2 separate regions of the Homo sapiens genome follow, and region 1 is linked to region 2. The links are contacts of gene promoters, found by promoter capture Hi-C in blood cells and fetal thymus (Javierre and others, 2016). All regions are on one chromosome and are shown on one strand. Each heading gives the region's core, a stretch centred on a gene start or on the middle of the fragment in contact. The rest is flanking DNA. Distances are from core to core; before and after follow the strand shown.

Region 1 (6,337 bases), core at 3,548-6,047, 670 kb before region 2:
TAGAGATCAGCTTGGACTAAACTGAACAGGCAACAGAGGTGAGCGGGTACAGCCAAATCCTCAATAATCTTGATTCTGAAGGAGGAGTAGAGGGACAGGCAGGACCTGTCTCTTGAAGCTATGACTGAGCTATGACTTCCTAAAGTTTCACACAGGCCAAACTTTTCCAAATTGGCAGTGGAGATGGTTTCCATACTATCAGCCCAGCCTGACCATTAAAAGTTCCCTTATAGCCCCAGAAGACTCAAAGAGAATGAGAAGGGGCTTTAGCTATTGCTGGTTTTCCCTGACCTTGTCTTCATCTCATTCAACCCTGGCACAAGAGCCCCATTCCTTGCTCAAATCTTACTCAGGAAACCTCTTCAGCGTTGTACTCCAGCATTCAAAACTGTTCCATTATAAACGTCTTCCACTTCTGTTGGAAAGCTTCTGCATACTCAAGAGGTATAAAGAAGATAGGAAGAGCTTCCTGACATCCTCTGTCTGGTCAAGATCTGACTTTAATCTTTTCCTTTTCCAGACTATGTTATTCTGGGCCCACCCAACAGACCCCAAGCTACCTTTCAAACCTCATCTCCTACTGTTCTCCTTCTTGAACACTCCACTCTGGCCCACTTATGCCCCCTTAAAACACCTTCTATTTTCCTACCTCCATATTTTTGCTGGTCTTCCCCTTTGGAATTAGTCCCTCCTCCTTGCCTACCTGAATATTACCCATACCTCAGAGTTCACCTTGAGTCCATTCACCTCTAGAACACCCTGCTTGGCCCGCCAGCGCTCTCAGGCATTTCTTCCACACCACCAAAGAGCGCTGCTTTTCTCTGCATTTGTCGTCTTATAATGAGAAGCAGTGAAAACTGCCTGCATATTCCTTTTTCTTTGGTGCTGCTGCCTGCACAGCAGAAGCATTTGGTAAATGTTTGTATATTGACAGGTTGATTGAGAGAGTCAGGAGCCCTTCCTCCCCGAGGGATGAAGACTTGCAGCAGTCTGTTCAAGGCTGCACTAGCAAGATTCACCAGGGCCAAATGAGAAATAAATAGGTGCCACAACTCTTCACCAGCCTGGTTTCTATAGAATCATTCGAGGAAGTGCCATGGAAATGAGTTCAAGTTCAAATTAAGCTCTGGCCATCATAGCCATCAACTATTTCAAATGTTCTTTTAGAAGCCTACCCCTTCTTGGAAAAGTTTACAATTTAAACCACAAAACCTCAGGCTTTCTTTCAATCCTGTAAACAGGAGTTTCTTGCCATTTTATGTTGTGGATTTCCTCTGGCACAATCCTTTTCAAAATATTGAAAAGGCAGTTTTCTAATCCAAACCCTTTCACCATATTGTGGTTCATGTGACAGAACACTGCACAGAGGTGAAAAATCACTCCATGCTATTTTTTACAATCCAGATATTGGCTAAAGTAGACATAATAACTAATAGACTGCAGCAACTTTCATGCAATATGAATTCCCATTAAAAAGTTTACACTAGCAAAATTTTCCAGGCATAAATATCTTGTGGAAATTGGTTCATTCAAATTTGGGCTCCAAAGTGGCCTTTAACACATAGCAATTATTGCAACCATGAAGAAACAGGTAGACTGTGGACACAAATCTATAATAATATGCTTTATGATTTATTGGGGGTCTATTTTTGCTCTCCTACATCTACATGAAAACCAAGAATCTTAAAATATCAAAAGTGGCAGTTTAAAAACAAAACCACTTTCCAAATCCCAAATGCAAGGATTCAGTGGGGAAGGGTCAGGAATCCTGTCACTGATTCATATCCATTAAAGTTGGTTCCAGTGAGGACATACCTTCCCTATAGATTCCAGGAAGTTCAACTACCATGTCTGTTTATATCTCAACTTGACTTCTCCTAAGGTAAAGTAAGTTTTACGGAAATAATTCTGTATTTATATATTTGCTTTTACTTATTCATAAGAGATTTGAGGCAACAGAGAGTTCCGCTGTGCAGTCTTGGGAAAAGTGAGGCTGCTTCTGCACAGTCACTCCTGGCTTCCTCTACCAGGGGCCCCAGGCTGCTGTGGGGAGCACTTGCTGTCCTCCAGCAACCCACTGCCATCAGGGTGAGGCCAGGGAAATGAGAGGAAGGGCTCTTGCCCTGCCTGTGGCTTTCTCTGACTTGGCTGGAAACAATGGATTTATTTTAAAAAGCAGTTTTAAGAGACACATGTGTTCACATATAATCATTCTTTTGAGGGTATGTCAGTTTTTAAATGGCATGATTCGCCCCAAATAAAATATCCCCCATTTCTCACATCTAGCTGTCTTCTCTGGAAGAATACAGTGTGCTGAGGCATATTGGAAACTGGGCCTCACATTTCTTCACTAGGAATTGAGTTTTCTCAAGGATTAAGCTTTTGTGCTTAAAGAGAAAAGTGCAAAATCTTTGGGAGGAAAAAAGGAAAACAACGACCTGTCAAATTTCTTTTAGCGCCTATGACTAGTGTTAACTGACATGCTCTCAGAGTGCAATAAAAAGCCTGCAAACTGCTGCTAAAAAGATGGTTTGACCTTTTAAAATGGGAACTCCCCCACCCCATATCCATATTAAATAGACGAACCTTGGGAGCTCTAGAGTTTTAGATTAATAAGTGAAATGAGGTTGAATTTCCAGAAAAAGGGTTTCCCTGTAGGCTGCAGACTGGCTAATTAGGGTGTTCTAGACCTACATTGTAACAGCAGGTAGAAGGCAGGCCCTAAACCTTTTAGCTATTGTCGTTGCCACCTGCTCAGAGTCTAGTTCTGAAAGGAGGCGGGTGCGGAGTTATGAAAATTTGGTAAATATAAAAGTCCCGGACGCGACCGCCCGTAGCCTGCGGCCCCTGGCGGTTGAGGAGCCGCGGCGATCCTTGGTCTTCACCGCAGCAGCCAAGCCCGGCGCGCACCAACCGGCGCTGCTGAAAGTTGGAGAGCTCCCAGCTCGCCGATAGAATTCGGCGGTGGGCGCCAGGGGAATCCCTTCCAGTGCCGCAATTAGGAAAGTTTTAAAAAGTAAGGACCCTAGACAGACAAGAGATCCATCCTTTCCTTTAGCATAAGAAACACCCCGCGCCGCGCCAGCCGAACGCTGCTCGCACAAGGCTATCCGCCCTTCTTGGCCGGGACGCACTCGGTGCCTTCCAGCTCCCCACCAGAACTGGTCCAGGGGGCGCGGAAACAGAGAGGCAACTGTGTCCGGCTTGTGGTTCCAGACGGAAACGCCTCCGGGCTCCCTGGCCCGGGGGACAAGGGTTCGAAACTTCAACAGTCGCGAGGGCAAGGACAGAACTACCAACTCCCGCTCGGATGCCCGGGACCTGCTCTTCCAAGCCCGCTCCGGTTTCTCCAAAGGACGCGCGGCACAGCCCATGCGCCCCCGGCACTCCACTCCACTCCTCTATGGTTTCCCCCAAACTCTTCCCGGGGAGCCCCACAAAGCACAGACGGCGCCCTGAAACTCGCCAGGCACTCGCCAGCCATCCCCACCTCCGCCTCTCGAACCCTCCTTGTCGCGTTCTTCCCGCCCCGCACCTTTCTCCTCGCGTTTCTGGGAAGTCAGAAGCAAACCACGAGAAAATGCCTTCGCAAGGAGCCTCCCTACACCCGCCCTGTCACTGAAACAAAAGCGTAGGGAGGAGGGAGGTGGGAGAGGAGGCGGGAGGAAGGTTTAGAAAGACGATGGGGACAGCAGTAGGAAGGAGCTGGGGAGGGGGGTCAAGGTGGCAAGCAGAGCTGGGGGCCCAGAGTCCGCTCCCGTGCCGCGCGGCGAGTCGCTTACATGCCCAGGTCGCTGTAGGTGTTGAAGAACTCCATCTGATTGCACGCCTGAATCCAGCCCACCACCCAGGTCTCGTGGCGGGGGATGGGGGGCATGACCACGCGGGCGGAGGCTTTGAAGTAGGGGGTCTTGTAGCGCAGGACGATGGGCGAGGTCTCCTCGATGCGCGTGGGGCACTGGTCGATGGTGGCGCACACATCGTACACCACGATGTTCTCGCGCCGGATCCGCGCCTTGCAGGTGATGCTTTGGATACAGCCCATCCTGCAGCCCGGTGCCGGCACGGCGCGGCGTGGGGCAGCGCGGGGGCCCGCGCGGGCAGCCGGGGGCGCCCGTCACGCCGGCATGGCGACGCGCCGCTCGCTCCCGGTCAGACTCAGCTCGCACCTAGGAGCGGGGAGCCGCCGGGCATCCTTGGGGAAGCCCCCTCCTCTTGCAGCCGCGCGGGGTCCCCGCTGCCCCGACGTCCGCCCACGCCCGCCCCCTCGCTCCGGCAGGGCGCGCGGAGGGTGCACTCCTAGGAGGCGGCGGGTGCCCTCGCCGGCTCCAGCGCCCGGGCGGAGGGCAGGGAGGGGAGCGGCGCTGCGAGGAATGGTGCCCACCCCGGGCCGGAGCCCCCCGCCCCTCGCCGGAGAGGAGGAGGCGGCAGCGGCGGCGGCATGGAGCCGGGGGAGGGCGGCGGTGGCAGCGCCCGGTCTGTCTGCCTCCGCGGCGGCAGCAGCAGCAGCCGCCGCCGCCGCCGCCGCTGCATGAACCTCTGCACCACGGCTGCCCCCCGCGTGCAGCGCACCCAGCGGCGGGCGAGCGGGCGGCCCAAGAGGCAGGCGGAGGCAGCAGCGGCGGCGGCGGCGACCGGAGCTCCCGCCGGCCCCGCCCCGTAGCCGGACCACACCGACACTCCTCGGCCCGGCTGCCTCGGCCCGGGGGGCGCCAGGAGGCTGTGGCCCGGGGTGGAGAGCCCCAACGGCTGGAGCAGCACAGGACGTGCTCCGCGGAGGAAACTGGCTGTACGCCATGAGTTTTGTCCCTATTCGGCTGCCGTCCGGGTGGGGGGGGGGTAATGTGTAAGGGTGGGGGTGTTTAAAGGGCCGCTAGCGCCGGGGTGGGGCCCCGCACGTGGGGCTGAGGCGGGGCGGGGCCCTGGTAGGTGGTGCCCTGGGGTGGGGGTGGGGGACTAGGGCGGGCCCAAGCGCCACCGGGTGGGTGAGGCCGAGCAGGGCGCGGCGCTGTCCAGAGTCCAGTGGGGAACCCGGTAGCCCAGTAGGGGCTGTAGAGTGAGTGTTTCGGGCAGCAGAAGGGTTAGGGGAACAGCTTTATCAGAGATTGGTCGTTATTCAGAATATAGCTTGTTGGATTAGATTTAGGCTTGAGCCCTTTTAGTATCCTACCTTCAGAAAGGGTGAAGGGCGGGCTCCAGCAGCGTTACTAAATGCAGTGTATTTGCCTCTTTGCCTGACTGGGTTTGTTCTGGAAGCTCTTCTTTCCACCACTGTGTGTAGTGGGGATACCGGAAGAATCCCTCCGTACTCCAGCACTAAGTCTCTCATATGCCAGAGTTTTGGCAGACATTGGGCATTGTGTACAGTATGACCACGGTCATGTGTCTGATACTGCAGTCTAATGTGCCAAACAGGAAGAATATTTAGCAGATGCTTTTACTAGGCATCTTCTTACATTTTTATTTTCAAAGCCAATAGCTTCTAAGTATTTCTTCTGCGATCATTGAACATTTGCTGGATCTGCTGCCCAAGTGTGAAATACTGACTAACAGGCCGCAGGAGGTGCTAGAGTTAGTCTTTAGCTAGGACAGGTGTGACGAGTAATTTAAAAATTGATTGAGATCTAAAAGCACTCTTCATCCTTGTTTTAACTGTTCTGACACCTTGGTTCACTTTATAGTTAACAAAAAAGCAGTTTTTCCCTTTGATGACTCGTCTCTCTCATTTTACCGTGTAGCCACAGACCTCAATCACTGGTCCTTTCATTCAGCAAAGGCTGACTGCCTGCCTGGCAGGAGCCAAACATAGTGCTAGGTACTAGGGATTCAAAGTTGAAAAAGAGCACATGGATCACTGGAGAAAATAAACCTGTTAACAAGTTATTATAGTAAACTGTGACACCTGCTTTAGTGGGGTTGTGTATCCAGTGCCGTGGAAGGCCAGACATGTAAATCTCTGGCCACATGTAAATCCCTCAGTGGTCAGAGAGCCACTCAGTGGCTCTCTGGCCACTGAGAGATTTACGTGTGACTTTGCTCAAGTAGTGACATTTAAATTGAATACTGACAGACTGTAGAGTCTCACTGAAAAGAGAAAGGTGAATGAGTAGTACAGGACCAGCATTTGGCAAATGCAAAATGCATAGAGATATGAAAGAACTCATCCTGTACTGAGGGGGAGAAACAACTCACAGTCAAGGCATTTCTCAAGGTGTTATGTGTCGACCATGGGCATCAGAATCACTGTCCAAGAATCAATTGGTTGTTGATAGACCATATCTTTTTTCTTTTTAAAATTAAGACTACAGACTTTATTTTGATTTTACTAGTTTTTCCA
Region 2 (6,982 bases), core at 3,183-5,682:
CCAGAAGGAGAAGACAGAAAGAGAGAAACAGAAAAAAATAGCTGAGAATTTCCCATAATTAGCAATTGACACCAAACCAAACAGATCCAGGAAACTCAGAGAACACCAAGCAGAATAAATATCAAAAAGTTTACACCTAGAAATATCATACCTGTGATGGCTAATTTTATATGTCAACGTGACTAGGCTAAGAGATGCTCAGATAGCTGGTAAAACATTATTTATGGGTGTTCCTGTGAGGGTATTTCTGGAAGAGATTAGTATTTGAATTCGCCCTCACCAACATAGGCAGGTATCACCCAATCCACTAAGGGTCTGAACAGAACAAAAAGTTTTTATTGAGCTGGGTGTCCATCTTCTCTTGCCCTCAGACACTGGAGCTCCTGGTTCTCAGGCCTTCACACTCAGGTTGAATTATAACACCCAGCTTTCCTGCCTCTCCAAATTGCAGACAGCACACTATGAGACTCAGCCTCCATAATCACATGAGCCAATTCCCTTCTTCTTCTTTCTTCTTCTTCCTTCCTTCCTCCTCCTTCTTCTGCTTCTGCTTCTTCTCCTTCTCCTCCTTCTCCTTCTTCTCTCTCTCTCCCTCCCTTCCTCCCTCCCTCCTTCCTCCCCTCCCTCCCTCTACTCCCCTTCTATATAGAGATAACACACACATTTTCCAAACTTCTCTCATACAGGTGTGACCATGTAACTGATCCCAACCAATGGAATGTGAATAAAAGAGACATGTGTCACTGTAGGGGCAAGAAAAGGTTGTGCCTTCTTTGTTTTCTCTCCCCTTCACTCTGGCAGATGGAGAAAACCACAGGCCCCAGGTGGCGACAAAGCCAAAAGACAGAAGGAACACGGATCCTAAATCACGGCATCAGGAGTCACCTGTGGCAGAAACACGCTGGACTATTACATCAACCACACTTCTGTTGTGTTTGTGCCTTTATGCATTTGGGGTCTGTTTGTTACAGTAGCTATAATAGTATGACCCTAAGTGTTATAATTCCCTTTCCTCTTCTAAAGAAACCACTGAGTGTTCCTTAACTCTCTGAGGTGCTCTAACAACACACCTCCTCTCCAAGAACTTCTAAGTCCTTCCAAGGAACTGACCAGAGCAGGATTTTCCTTACCATTTTATCAAGATGTCCCAGGAATAACTTCTGGCTTTATTGGGTAATATTTTTGAAAACAGATAGGGTCTCACTATGTTGCTCAGGCTGGTTTTGAACTCCTGGCCTCAAGCAATCCTCCTACAGCCTCCTGAGTAGCTGGGATTACAGATACAAGCCAGCATGCCTGGCTTCTTATGGGGTAATTTCTAGGGCTAGGGCTCATATCTTGCTCTTCCTCTGAAGTGCCAGAATCCCAGGAAAGAGAAAGATACAGTCAGCAGTGATGCTCCTTCCCCATTTGGTTCTCTCCTCCTTTCCTCCCCATCTAGGATTTCCTTGTCCACATACCTGAGGATATGTACCACAAAATGGTCAATTCTCCTTCTCCTGCTTCAGAGCAACTCCTTGAGGGCCAAGACTGGGAGCCCTAAGGCCAAGGTTGCCTCTTGTCATCATCTCAATAAGCTACACCCTTAAAATTGCTCTATAACAAGGCACCCCAGAACTCAGTAGCTTAAAACAACAATAATCTCTTCTAATGGTCACTGGTCTTCATATTAGCAAGGATAGCTCTGTAACACATGCCTCCTTCTGATGCCTAAGTTGGAGGGGCAGTGACTACTTAAGCATGCTTTTGTCATAGCAGAGATCAAAAGCTCCCAGAGGTGCAAAGAGAAACTTCTGAGGCCTCTTAGGACTCAGGACTCACACACAGTCACTTCCTCCCACATTCCATTGGCTGAAGCTCACCATAGAAGCAGGCCAAGTGAAGGTGCATTGAAGTACATTCTGCACATGACACTTCAGCAAAGGTGTGGCTTATAACACTACCACAGGGACACAAAGTACCAAGACTATTACTTCAGTCTACAGCGGTCCCCGAGGAACAGACGTATGTGGGCCCGTGGCTATATTGACCTGGCCATGGGGCCTCTGCTGAAGGAAATCAGAAATGTGTATTCACCAGGGAACACTACAGTTAGAAATGAGTATTTTGTAAAATTTGAGGCTCTTTGGAATTCCTATAGTTTGGGTACTATAATAATTCAATAGGAGGAAGGATGAAGTCAGACCAACAGCATCATTAAAGAACTATTATGTTGATTAAATGGATGTTCGGCTGATATTAGCCACCAACTAAGAGAAACTCATCCTATTGAATTACCAGAGTAATGCACTGTCTCAAAGACTGGCTTCAATCACTCCCCATTCAGACTCAGATAAAGTCTTATGGAGAATGGGAACAATAACAGAGCTGAGAGAATGTTAGGACAATATATGGTTCAACTCTCTTTTTGCAGATGAAACACCAGCAAAGAGAAGCACAATGACTTAGAAAACCACTTAAACATGAGTCTGTAGTGTATTGTGCCTAGGCCAGCACGTTGCTCCTAGAGTAAGTCTTGTTAGCAATTACAGACCCGTAAAAAGGTGGATCCTCTAAGATCCTCTAACAGTAATTGAGATCATGGGGCTGTGGGCTCAAAGTCAAGAATTCGGGTGGGTCACTCTTAATTTCTTCCCAGGGACACCTAATCCAAGCCCATGAGAACATTAGGGCTCTCAGAGACTAAAACTCTAACATAGTAGGGTTTTTCGTGTGTGTGTGTCTGTGTGTGTGTGTGTGTGTGTGTCTATCTCAAAACTGTATTAATTTCTTTTCTAAGATGCTGGGGTGCCAGCAACATCCCTATTACTCTTCTCCCTTCCTAATGTCCTCCTCACTTTCTGTTTGAATCTGCCATTTCCTCAGAAAAATTAAGAGGGCAATGTCAATCAATTCAAACTAACATGTCACTCCTGTTCTACAAATACTTACTTTTACACAAAAATAATTGTTCATTAAAACAAAAAAGTAAATTCTAGCCTCCCTCCCAATATTTGAACGATCTTTTCCACCCACAGATTAGATCTTCTACGGTCTTGGGTTGTCACCGTGATTGCACTTCCAAGATGTGTACGTTATGTCATGCTACATTTTACGTGTTAAGAGCACAGTGCACAGTGACCTCTCCCATGACTGAGAGAAGTAAAATTCACATGTAAGTAGTAGTGGCCACAAAAACTTGGAAAGACAGGTCTTTTCCAACAGATATTCAGGTCTCAGAGACAATCTGAAGAGTTTGACGGACTCTTTCCTTGACCAAAGTTTAATCAGGCTTAAGTCCTCTTCTTCAGCAGGCCTCCACCCTGGTCCCCTGACCACTCACCCCGAACCTTTGGCCTGCCCAGCTCTATTTTAGCAAGAACCCTGCTAAGTTAGGTTAGAGAGAAATCACCACCCTTGATATCTGATCACCCTGGATATCTGATCAAATTTCTCATTCCCCCACCCTTGATATCTGATCGCCCTAGCCTGCCTTCAGCAAGAATCCTGTTAAGTGGGTTCAGCAAGAATCCCTCTAGGTGCTTGATGTCTCGTATCAGTAACTTTCCATCTACTGACCCCTTCGTTCTGCTCCTTGGCTATACATCCCCAGCTGTCCTTACTGTATTCCGTGTTAGACCTCATCTCTCCCCCCAGTGTGATCATCTTTACACCTATAGCAATAACCCTGTATAAAGTCTTCCTTACTGTTTTAACAAGTGTCAGAATAATTTTTTCTTCAACAAGTTCTCAACAAAAACCCATACCCAGAATCTTTTTCTGGAATGAAAAGGGCTTCAGGGCTTCTCAGGTCACTTTTGTTGTATTGCCCACAGAGCTGAGAGTAAACAACTCCTTTGGACGTTTTGGAGAAGAAAGGTCCTTCTATACACCCACTTCATCCAAGGAATTACATGCTTGGGATATTAAGCAACAGCTACAAAAATCAGGAAGTTCCTTCTCCATGTATATGACGAAGTTCTGGACAGGAGCCCGCTGCCAGAATACGAATACTCTTCCCCAAAGACCCCTCCTCATGCCCCTACACGCTCTTGCCGGTCTAGCCTTTCATTGCCTGAAGCACGGCGAGAACGCCTGGAGAGCTCGTCCAAGCAAGTGCAACCCGCTGGTGACTGCAAATGAGCACATGGAACTGTGCGCCCACGCTACGCTCGGTTAAAATCAATCTGGGCTCTTCCTGCCTCGTCCACGCCGAGGTCACACGCAGCACTGGAAGCGGCCTGCATCGGGCGGGGCGGGGAAGGCCGAGGGCACGGCTACCCAGGCCCGCCAGGGACTGCCCGGACCGGCCGGAAGCCGCGCCTAGAGGAGGGCCCCGGAGCTCGCGCGGGCGCCGTCCCCCGGCGCCGCCGAGGCCTGCTGACATCAGCCGCGCTCCTCCCCTCGCCTCCCAACACCCTCAGCTCCGGGCCGGACCCTCCCTCCTCCCACCACGTGTCCTCCCCGCTCCCTCCCGAGGGGCCGCGCGCACGGGAGGACGGAGAGGCGGAAAGGATGGCGCTGTGACAGCCGGGCCGGAGCCCTCGCGTCCCCACCCCGCGCCCTGGCCGCTGGGCCCGGCGGTGAGTGCGCGCGGGCGGGGGCGGCGGCGGCGCGGCCCCTCCCCCGGGTCCCGGGCGGCTGGGCCGCGGCAGAGGCGGGGGCGCCGAGGCTGCGCCGCCGCCGCCGCCGCCTTTGTTGCGGGCCCGCCGGGGAGGCGGGCGGCGCCGGCTCTCGCCGCCCGGCAGGTGCGCTGGGGCCGGGAGGGGGCCAGGTGGGGAGGCGGGCCGGGCGGAGGGGGCAGCGGAAGCGCTCCCGGCGCGGTTCCGCGGAGAAAGGGAAATGGGGCAAGATGGCTGGAGAAATCCGAACGCGCCCGGGGGCGCGGCGGCGGTGGCGCAGGCGGGGCAGGGCGGGCGGCGGCCCTGGTTGCGGCACCTTAGCGCGGGGAGGCGGCCCCTCCCACCTCTGCCCCGGAGCCGGCAGGGAGACCGCCGCCAAGTTCGGGCCCCAGCTGCAGGCATCTGAAGCCTAGACCCATCCATGCCGCGTTCGCCTATCTTTTTTGGAAATATCGAAGGAACCGACTTTGAACTCCAGAGGGATCTTTTCTTTGGAGGTTCCCCGATGCAGCCCTCAAGATGCATCCGCACTCCACACCTAGGAATTGCCCGCGCCCATAGAGGGCAGGAGTGCGGCCCTTTGTACTGGCCAAGAGTCAGCGAATAGAGAATTTGCAGCCCAGAGGCAATGGGTTATTTCCCTGTCGGGGTGGGCCCCAGCCGATTTCTGCACCTTTTTGGGTATCCAGGCATAACCCTCACTATGTTTCACTGACTCCTGCGTTTGCAAAGTCCCTTAAGGTAGAATGACCCTATTTTCTGAACCAGCTCGTGGACAGAACCTTTGAATTTGGAAAATCCAGGCAATGGGCCTACTGAGCCAACCGCTCCGCCCATGCTTAACTGGCTTCTAGCACCCATTCCAGTTGAGTAAGTGTCCAATCTGTGTTCAGACACCTTCACTGATAGGAAATCAGCACCTTTCCCCTGCCTCTGATTCCTGTTTGGGTGGCACTGGCTGTGAGAAAGTACTGCCTTTCTCACTGCTTAAAACCTTTTCCAGGAGTATTTATCCACTGGCCGGCCTCTGTTCTGCCGTCCAGTCTCTACAAACCAGTCTGGGTTCTCTTCCCCAGATAGCTTTTTAAATATTTGAAGGCAGCCAGATACGTTATCTACCCACAGCCTCTCTTATCATAATTAAACATGTCACCCTGTAGCTTCCTGGCCGACTCTTGTTTCCTTACTTCCCTCCAGCGGGAACAGTGCTTGGGGCTAAAGAGGTTTGTATGTGGCTCAGCCTCCCCCATCATAGGCTTTGGGGAGGTCACAGTGACACCTGGTTTTTCTGAACCTGAATCTTGCTTGCAGAGATGGAGTCCACAGCCTACCCTCTCAATTTGAGCCTGAAAGAAGAGGAAGAGGAAGAAGAGATTCAGAGCCGGGAACTAGAGGACGGCCCGGCAGACATGCAGAAAGTACGAATCTGCTCTGAGGGCGGATGGGTAAGTAAGAAGGTGTGGAGTCCACACAGCCAGCAGATGCAGGCCTGAGAGCCCAGCTTGCTTTAAGTCTCCTCCTCAGACAGACGTGGGAAGTAAAAATAGCCCAGCCCGGTGTGTTTGCATTCCTGAGAAAACAGCTCTGTGGCTTTAAAAGGCAGTGCAAAGAATGGAGGAGGTGTTATGGAAACAGTCCCTCAGCCATGTAGCTTGTCATCGTTCAATTGGAAGTCCTAGAAGCCAGGACCTTGTCTCTCTCGTTCACCCACTTATCCTGCACTGCGTTTGATGCCAGGCACATTGTAGGCACCAAGTAAATGTTTGTTGACTTACTGCTGGTTGAAGGGAACCATTTTAAATAAGACTCGAGTCATTGGGTTGACATGAGAGGTTAGGCTAGTTGGTTCTGTGTGAGCACCTCTTACCACAGTTGACACAGGAGAGCTGCCTGTCCAGCTGACCTGGATAGAAATGGTGGGCAGCAGGGAATACAGAGATTCAGGGTATACACGCAGAATAGTATGATAGAGGTCGGTTTATACAAATGCAAATGCAGTAGATACTTATAGTTACAGATAGTTATTCACCGTAGTTACTGGACTTCGTGGTAATTAGGCATGAATAGTAAACATTTTAAATAAGCAACAAATTGACATTCCTTTTCTCTGCTTATTTTCCGTTGTGTATAAACATTGTCAGTATACATAGTATCCTTTGCTTCCATGAAGAGCCCCTATCCATACAAGCATGGTACTTCTAAATTGTTCCCTACCAGAGGAGAGAACTGGGATGCAGAAAGATTATCTGCCTTGCCCTAAGGTTACACATGAACACTGACATTTGTTCTTCAAAACAGGTCTCCTGAGCTGCACCCTTAAAAGTAATGCATTTTACCATATGTATGCTATACCTTAATTTAAAAAAAAAAAAAACAGTGCA

What was found. Contacts are between HindIII fragments. The CHiCAGO score rates a contact against its expected background, and 5 or more counts as called.
Region 1: the fragment with the promoter of FAM78B here is called in contact with the fragment with the promoter of POGK in region 2 in 5 of 17 cell types (M1 macrophages, M0 macrophages, endothelial precursors and 2 more); the score reaches 9.6 in M1 macrophages.

Annotation. Positions count from the first base shown.
Region 1 is chr1:166,162,204-166,168,540 of GRCh38, forward strand. It overlaps FAM78B (family with sequence similarity 78 member B), which reads right to left and starts at 4,798. Exons shown (of 2, transcript NM_001017961.5): 1 at 3,783-4,798. The coding sequence starts at 4,045. LOC112268276 (a long non-coding RNA gene) reads left to right here and starts at 3,674. Exons shown (of 3, transcript XR_002958633.2): 1 at 3,674-3,851. RefSeq lists enhancers at 3,665-4,567, 3,739-3,908, 4,009-4,058 and silencers at 4,449-4,508, 4,549-5,038. The HindIII fragment of the contact is 5,998 bases long and covers 2,378-6,337 here.
Region 2 is chr1:166,835,043-166,842,024 of GRCh38, forward strand. It overlaps POGK (pogo transposable element derived with KRAB domain), which reads left to right and starts at 4,433. Exons shown (of 6, transcript NM_017542.5): 1 at 4,433-4,562; 2 at 5,913-6,046. The coding sequence starts at 5,915. RefSeq lists silencers at 4,189-4,618, 4,719-4,958. The HindIII fragment of the contact is 10,121 bases long and covers 1-6,982 here.